2 separate regions of the Homo sapiens genome follow, and region 2 is linked to region 1. Evidence: promoter capture Hi-C in human tissues and cell types (Jung and others, 2019). All regions are on one chromosome and are shown on one strand. Each heading gives the region's core, a stretch centred on a gene start or on the middle of the fragment in contact. The rest is flanking DNA. Distances are from core to core; before and after follow the strand shown. Region 1 holds the start of GK2 (glycerol kinase 2). Region 2 has its middle 37 kb from the start of GK2.

The links. Contacts are between HindIII fragments. The study calls those that stand out against the background at their distance.
Region 2: a fragment that was not itself captured here is called in contact with the fragment with the promoter of GK2 in region 1 in 1 of the 25 tissues and cell types used here (bladder).

The regions. Positions count from the first base shown.
Region 1 is chr4:79,405,605-79,410,274 of GRCh38, reverse strand. GK2 (glycerol kinase 2) reads left to right here and starts at 2,047. Exons shown (of 1, transcript NM_033214.3): 1 at 2,047-3,914. The coding sequence starts at 2,075. The coding sequence ends at 3,736. The HindIII fragment of the contact is 12,605 bases long and covers 620-4,670 here.
Region 2 is chr4:79,369,182-79,373,792 of GRCh38, reverse strand. No RefSeq gene overlaps it. Among named protein-coding and RNA genes, the nearest start is that of GK2, 37 kb to the left of the region's middle. The HindIII fragment of the contact is 3,027 bases long and covers 262-3,288 here.

The DNA.
Region 1 (4,670 bases), core at 798-3,297:
ATATCACAGTTAATTTTTATGTTATTTTCTATCTTGTTCTATTTGGTTTTACTAAACACAAATGGGCCTTATCCTTGAGCTAATTCAGAAATGTAGCCTATGCCCTAATACAAAAAATTGCCATTCATTGACTGCATATTCAATATATTTTAATTAATGATTAAATAAGTCTTTATTCACCGACTCTATAGTTAATCTGAAAATTTAAGTTTCCATTTAGTGGAATTCCACTCTGGCCAAGATGTAGTAAAAAGGATTGGAGTTACCTTTTCATCTAAAACAATCAAAAATGGAAAAAATAGATGAAATAGTTCACATAATGTGCAAAATATAAAACAACAGTTCACAAAATGCTGGATATCACGGAATGAAAGGCAGTAATTTCTAAGAGATTAAAAACAAGTGACATGACTACTATGATTTCCCCAGCTTAGTTTCTTGAGAGAGTTTTGAAGCAACAGCACAGACAGGGAACCCAATTGAAACTCAGTGGAAACCTATGGCAAGGAGATTAGGCTGAGAGCCTAGAGAAACCAAAGAAGCTAGACTCTGCCAGGCATAGCACTGGAGAAAAAAGAGTTGCATAGAGAGAGAACTCCAGAGAGCTTTAGAGGGTCCCCCAGTGAGTATTCAGTTGGGTATTGATCAGTGCATGTATAGGAGAAAACTACTGAGGCTAACGAAAGATGCACCTGGAAAGACTAGAGATAACAGTATCCAGTGGTCACTCAGGGCTGGGAGGAATTACTGTTCCAAACAGCCTCATTTGTCAGGGGTGTTGGGTAGAGTACATAGAAAGATCTCTTCACAGTAAAGAGGAAGAATTAGCCCCAGACTGAGTACTATCCTTGTGCCATCTAAGAAATCTTAAAAGCAGACGCAAAAGAATTGAACTGTTTCCAAGTAATTTATCTGCATCCCAAAACAAAACTCAAGACCATTTATAGGGATACAAAAATATCAAGCACCCAGTCAGGTAAAAGTCACAATGTTTGGCATCTAATTAAAACTTATCAGGCATGCAAAGAAACAGGAAATACAAGCCATAATGAGGAGATAAGCAATCAATCAAAACCGAACCAGAACTGACACAGAGGTTAGAATTGCAGAAAATGAAATTAAAAGTTATTCTAACTGTATTCCATGTGTTCAGAAAGTTAAGTAGATATTAAAAAACCCAAATTGAGCTTCTAGGGATGAACACTACAATATGTGAGGTGAAAAATGTACTGGATGAATTAATAGCAGAGCAGACATTGGAGAAGAAAAGATTAGTGAACTTGAAGAGAGAGCAACAGAAACTATCTGAAATCAAGGACAAGGAGAAAAGGTAATTATAATGAGTAGGGCATCAATGGAGTCCCTAAGGGATAGAAGAGACAGAATAAAACACATTTGAAGAAATAATGGGCCCAAAGCTTTTCAAAGTCGATGAAACCTGTAAACCTACAGATTCAAGTAGCTCAGTAAACCCCAAGCAAAGAAAATAAGAAAACTATTCCAAGACACTTCATGATAAAACTGGGCAAAACCACTGATAAAGAGCAAAACCCTAAAGATAGAGAAAAATAGACATGTTAAAAATAATAGCAAAGTTCCACCTGAAACAGCAAGAGAGACGATGGTAGAGCAACAGCTCCAAGGTCCTGAAACTTAAAAAGAAAAAATATGTCAAATAGAATTCTATACCCCGAGAAAATACCTTTGAATATTACTATGAAATATATTTCAGATGTTCAAATTTGGAAGAATTCATCTCCAGCAGACCTGCACTATTAAGAAGGAAAATGATAACGTAGAGATATAGATCCACACAAAAGAGTGAACGCCGGTAACTGTAATTACATGGATAAATATATGATTTAAAAAAAAAAATTAAATCTTAGAAGACAACTGAGTGGCTGGAGGTGAAGCCTGGGCTGGAGGGGTGGGGTGAGAAGGCGCCGCGCCAGTTAAAGGGCAAAGGTTGCCTTGCGCCTGCGCCTTGTGCTCCTGACTGGCTGCGCTCCCTGCCCCCAACACCGCCGTGGCCTGGGAAACGGTCCCAGAGCTGCTGAGCCGACCTACTGGTGTCATGGCAGCCCCAAAGACAGCAGCTGTGGGGCCGTTGGTGGGAGCGGTGGTCCAGGGCACCAACTCCACTCGCTTTCTGGTTTTCAATTCAAAAACAGCGGAACTACTTAGTCATCACAAAGTGGAATTAACACAAGAGTTCCCAAAAGAAGGATGGGTGGAACAAGACCCTAAAGAAATTCTTCAGTCTGTCTACGAGTGTATAGCGAGAACGTGTGAGAAACTTGACGAACTGAATATTGATATATCCAACATAAAAGCTGTTGGTGTCAGCAATCAGAGGGAAACCACTGTAATCTGGGACAAGTTAACAGGAGAGCCTCTCTACAATGCTGTGGTGTGGCTTGATCTAAGAACCCAGACTACTGTTGAGGATCTTAGTAAAAAAATTCCAGGAAATAGTAACTTCGTCAAGTCTAAGACAGGCCTTCCACTCAGCACTTACTTCAGTGCAGTAAAACTTCGTTGGATGCTTGACAATGTGAGAAACGTCCAAAAGGCTGTTGAAGAAGGTAGAGCTCTTTTTGGTACCATTGATTCATGGCTTATCTGGAGTTTGACAGGAGGAGTTAATGGAGGCGTGCATTGTACAGATGTAACAAATGCAAGTAGGACAATGCTTTTTAATATCCATTCTTTGGAATGGGATAAAGAGCTCTGTGACTTTTTTGAAATTCCAATGGACCTTCTTCCAAATGTCTTCAGTTCTTCTGAGATCTATGGCCTAATTAAAACTGGAGCCCTGGAAGGTGTGCCAATATCTGGGTGTTTGGGGGACCAATGTGCTGCATTAGTAGGACAAATGTGCTTCCAGGAGGGACAAGCCAAAAACACCTATGGAACAGGTTGCTTCTTACTGTGTAATACGGGTCGTAAATGTGTGTTTTCTGAACATGGCCTTTTGACCACAGTAGCTTACAAACTAGGCAGAGAGAAGCCAGCATATTATGCACTGGAAGGTTCTGTTGCTATAGCAGGTGCTGTTATTCGTTGGCTAAGAGACAATCTTGGAATTATAGAGACCTCAGGAGACATTGAAAGACTTGCTAAAGAAGTAGGAACTTCTTATGGCTGTTACTTTGTCCCAGCCTTTTCAGGGTTATATGCACCTTATTGGGAGCCCAGTGCAAGAGGGATACTCTGTGGCCTCACTCAGTTTACCAATAAATGTCATATTGCTTTTGCTGCATTAGAAGCTGTTTGTTTCCAAACCCGAGAGATTTTGGAAGCCATGAACCGTGACTGTGGAATTCCACTTCGTCATTTGCAGGTAGATGGAGGAATGACCAACAACAAAGTTCTTATGCAGCTACAAGCAGATATTCTTCATATTCCAGTAATAAAACCCTTTATGCCTGAAACAACTGCACTAGGAGCTGCCATGGCAGCAGGGGCTGCAGAGGGAGTAAGCGTTTGGAGCCTTGAACCCCAGGCTTTGTCAGTTCTCAGGATGGAACGATTTGAACCACAGATCCAGGCCACAGAAAGTGAAATTCGTTATGCCACATGGAAGAAAGCCGTAATGAAGTCAATGGGTTGGGTTACCAGTCAGTCTCCTGAAGGTGGTGATCCTTCTATCTTCTCTAGTCTGCCTTTGGGATTTTTTATAGTGAGTAGCATGGTAATGCTAATTGGAGCAAGATATATCTCGGGTGTGCCATAATAATACCAGCTATGGAGTCCCAAGATGTAAACATTTTACATAATGAAAGCATATAGCAGTTCTGCCTCTTAATATAATGACACTATTATAGACTCTGATTTTGTTTATAAACCACTTGCTACATGACCCATGAAAACCCTAGACTTGTGACCTGAAATAAAGAAAATACGTTAGAAGAGCACTGTAGAAATATTGGGTGTGTTTTTTTTAACATCGACAGGGTTGGGCCAGCCATCTTGAAGGCTGGCCCCCTCCATTGCCATAACATTCTGCCCCATTCTTTCTAAAACATAGGCTATTCAGATTCTATTCATGGAATCTTTTTATCAACTATCCTCTAACACTTATGGACCCAGATTTGGTTCTTTGTGTTACACACACTTGATTAAGAGGTGTAATTAATCTGCTAAAATTAAGGGACTTTTTGTCATTGTTATTCTTGTTTTTAATAGGCTACAAGTCCTCCTTTCTACATATTAGAGAGACTACATCTTAACTGAATGTTTAATGGAAATATTTGCTAAATTCTTACAATAGAAATTTAGTATTCTCATAGCTTAGATATTTTCCTGAAAAATATTTGCCAAATTGAAATTTATTAGACAATTTACATGGTCTCATTAATTACTATTTTACTGAATTATTGTGTGAATCCTAGAGGGACAGGGACACTATTTCCCTTTTTTATATCATGTCTATATCATATAGAGTAGCTCATTTATAAGTTGAAAGTACATTGTAGTCAGTAGATTATAACATGGATGGTCCTAAATACTTTAAGGTAAACAGCTATATACATTTTGGGGAATGTGTATACATATTATTTATCAGGAGAAACCTACAAAGGCAGTATTTAAAAGTTAAATATGTTTTATGCTGCTACAAAAAGTATATTATGATTGCACCAAATTTCTTATAACTTACTCTTTTATTT
Region 2 (4,611 bases), core at 526-3,025, 36 kb after region 1:
ACATCTTTATTTTCCACTTATCCTTGCAAATTATGTGACAGTCCTGGGTAACTGATTTACTTTTTTTAAGTATCAGAGGTAGTCTCTGCATTCAAAAATTAAGAAAAAATAAGCTTATATTATGATGAGAAATACTTTGATTGGAAATAAGAAAGGCCTGGCACATCAGTGAAATAGTTCCTTACATATGGATATTCAAACAGATGCACAAAAATGAATTAATAAAAGAAACAGACTAGGGGGATGAGTAATGACAATTTCAAAATGATTATTAAAAAATGACTATTGGGTAGTTTTGTGGAAAGACAGGCAATCAGGCCAAACAACATGGCATATCCTTCTTACCCGGATAATTCTATGAAACAATTCAACAACTTATCATTAATTTGTCTTAGCATATCAGTAAAGCTTTCTTCTTTTCTTTTCTTTTTTTTCTGGAGATACAGTCTTGCCCTGTCACCCAGGCTGAAGTGCAGTAGTGTGATCTCGGCTCACGGCAACCTCTGCCTCCTGGGTTCAAATGATTATCCTGCCTCAGCCTCCTGAGTAGCTGGGACTACAGGAGCCCAACACCATGTCTGGCTAATTTTTGTATTTTTAGTACAGATGGGATTTCACCATGTTGGGCAGACTGGACTGGAACTCCTGACCTCAAGTGATCAACCAGCCTCAGTCTCCCAAAGTGCTAGAATTACAGACGTGAGCTGCCGTGCCTGGCTGGAGTAAAACAATTTTTTTTACAAAAAATATTCCCTTGGCAATATTGAAAATGTGGATTAAAAGTGTGAGTTACTTCAAAGGCATGAGACATTCATTCATCAATCCATCTATCCTTTTAATCATCCATTCATTCTTCCACTCACCTATCTACTCATCACATTGGAAGGAAAAGAAATACAAAAATAAACCTTGCCTGGATTCCATCTTAAAGAAGATACAACATATCTATAAATAAATGTCAGACAAGATAGAAAATATGTCCTGAGAGATATATTTGTTATTTAAAAAATTTGGTGGAAAAGCAATGACTTCAGGCTGGAAAAAGTCAGAAATGCTTTTATAAAAAAACATAGCCTGTATATTGTAATTTGAAAACTAGATAAGATTTTGACGTGCACAGAAATTTGGAAGATGTTTTATTCTTGTTATTTCTTTAATACCTAACTCACGTATCCTCTGCTCTAGGAAAATTGCCCTCACTCTTTTCTACTTACCATCATAGCTAGACTGAGTCTTAGATTTACATTAAAAAAATGGAATAATTTTAAGGACAAAAACAAACCTATAACTATACATCATGAATTCAGATAAAATATATTATACACATTAGGAATTGAATGCAGTTTAAATTCAGTAAATGTCAACTACTTAACTGAAACACTCCAAATTCTTTCGCTTTGAGGTGTAGCTAGTAGTTCAGAGAACAGATTCTAGAACTTTCAATCTGTATGACTTTGAATTCTAGCTCCAATTCTCACTAGCTTTGCAAACTGAGGTAAGGTGCTTAATCTCCTATACTTCTAATTCTTCACCTATAAGTTAGAGATAATAGTATAATTTTTATAGATTTATTGTGAGGAAAAGATGAGTTAGTATATTTAAATTCTAGTTATTATTATTATATGTATTCAGAAACTATATTCAGTTTTTTACATATAGTTCATGCATTGTATGATTTTAGAGACATTAGTAAGGATCCTTGCCTTAAAAACCACCTTTCCTTGTTTATTTCTTGTTGCCTTAATGTCTACCATCACAGATTCATTTTGTTGCCTTAAATATTCTATGTTTTTCAAAATTTAATTTCTAATTTGAGCTTGAGGAATAGAATAACGTTTTCCTTCTTCTCTAGTTCCTTATATTTTCCTCACCCTTACTTCTAATAGACTTCCTTGAACCAAATAGCTAGAATGATCCTGTTAAAGTAATATAGATTGGCTAGCATTGTGAGACAAACCACCTCGAAACTTAGAGACTTTAAACAACAATGATTTATTATTTCTCATGATTTTGTGAATTAGCTGGTGATATGGTTTGGCTATGTCCCCACCCATATCTCAGCTTGAATTGTATGTCCCAGAATTCTCATGTGTTGTGGGAGGGACTCGGGGGGATGTAATTGAGCCGTGGGGGCCAGTCTTTCTCATGCTACTCTCATGATAGTGAATAAGTCTCATGAGATCTGATGGGTTTATCAGGGGTTTCCGCTTTTGCTTCCTCCTCATTTTTTCCTTGTTGCCACCAAGGAACAAGTGCCTTTTGCCTCCCACCATGATTCTGAGGCCCCTCCCAGCCATGTGGAACTGTAAGTCCAATTAAACCTCTTTTTGTTCCCAGTTTCGGGTATGTCTTTATCAGCAGCATGAAAATGAACTAATACAGTTGGGCTATTCTTTTGCTAGTTTTATCTAGACTTACTCTTGCATTCAGCCGGAAGCTAAGCTGGGCTAGAAGATCCAAGGTGGCCTCACAGGTCTGGTAATTGGTTTGGCTCTTGGCTGGGAAAACTAAGTTCTCTACACATTGTAATAAAATTTTAATGAAAAGAGCTGTAAAATAATGCAGCCATGTTTTTCAGTCTACCTCAGTCCACCCTCCAATTATGATGACTTCCATTCCTCACCCATGCAAAACATTGCTCATCCTTCCCCTCCAACTCTCCTCTCATTACAGAATCAGACAGAAACCCCACTATCTCACAATCTACATCTAGTTCAGATATAGGCACAACTTCTTGGCTGCATTTATGTGGGTCCAGAGAGCTGTTTTCTAGAGACTAATTATTAAGATATCCATCATACAATGATTAGAGAGAAACTAGAGAACTCCATTAGACAGTCCCCTTCAAAGGGAATAACAGAAAGCACACAGAACACCTAACTTGAAGCAATTCTACGGTACAGCTGGACATATGCTTCCAGCTCCCAAGAAAATATGGTAGGTCCAAGATGGCTTCTGGGATGCCATCATTCCCCTTCATGTGGCTTCTCATCCTCCAAATAGCCAGACTACCTTCAGTACATGGTGATCTCAAGGTAGCATCCAAAGTGAGCAAAAGGAAAAGATGCCTCTTGAGACTTAGCCTTGAAAATTAAATAACATCACTTTTGCCAGATTGAAGCCTTGCATTGATGATTATGCAATTTTCACTGAGATCCAAATTCATCCTTCTATACTCTGCTTTGTTGTAATGATGGAGGTGGGACTGAGCAGATGATGTTTGACTTTGCCAGTGGAGTCAGAGATAACAGAGAGAGACTGCAAAATTGGAGAAAGGAAAGTGGACTTGCTTCTCCCAATTTGGTCCCTATATTCTTGTGGTTCATGTGAGTGCATCACTGCATCATCACTTCTTCACACCCAGTAGCAGGTCCTTCTCATGGCAGGAACCTAATCTAGTTGATCATTTTCTCAACACATGGTACTGATCTGGTCAGGATCCCTCAGCGACTCTGACAAAAGCTGGCCAACATTCCTTCCTCAGAGGTTTGATTTGTTTTGCTTCATGGTACACTTCCTCTAACTTGCTAAATTGAAATATTCTAATCTCTTTTGACCACCCCTAAGGGACGTAGCTGCTTCCTACCTCACTGATAATTTAGTGTTCTCTTTTTTATTGAATGACCTACTTAACACTTTTATACTTAGTTATAAACATTTATTTATATTCAATTATCTCAAGTAACTAGGTTTCCACCTCCAGAATGGACTCTGAATGATATGATTCCATCTCTTGCTAGGAAGAGCTACAAAATATTGTGGTTGTGTTCTTCATTCTACCACAAATGGTGAGACAAATCATGATATTTCTTTCTTTAAACTCTCCAAGGCCTTTTCATCTCATTCAGAGTAAAAGCTCAAGTCCTCTCGAAGGCCACAATGGCCTCCTTGCTGCCCTTTGAACATGTTATACTCCTGCCATAGAGATTTCATGTTTGATTTTCCATCTGCCTGGAAGATTCTTTCCCCAGATGGCTATAGGGCCCACTTTCTTATCCTCTCAAGTCATTGCTCAAATGTCACTTTCTCCCTAAAGCCTCTCTTGACCACCTTATTTAAAATTGAAGCAATCCCTCCCAACCAATATCTAGTACCCCCTATTTCTCTTTCTTCTTTCATTTTTTTCCATAGTGTGTATAATCAGTTAACTTATTTTACAATTTATTTACTGCCATCCTCCACTTCTCCCAACCTTAGAATTTAAGGGACAATATTTTTAACTGTTTTTTTTTCTATGCTGTTGCACCCAGACTTAAGAAAAGGGTTTATCATAGAAGAGATTCTCAGTAAGTTTATAAAGAAGTTGCTCTTCAGACTTATTGAATTAAGATTATTTTCCAGTATAGTCATGTGTCACATAACAACTTTTCAGTTAACAGCAAACTGCATATAAAATGGTGTTCCTGTAAGATTATAATTCTGCATGTTTAAAGTACCTTTCCTATGTTTAGATATGTTTTAATACACAAATACTTACCATTGTGTTACAATTGCCTACAATACTCAGTACGGTAACATGCCAATACTCAGTATATAACATGCCTAGGTTTGCAGTCTAGGCACAATAGGCTATACCATATAGTCTAGGTGTGTAGTAGGCTAGACCATCTA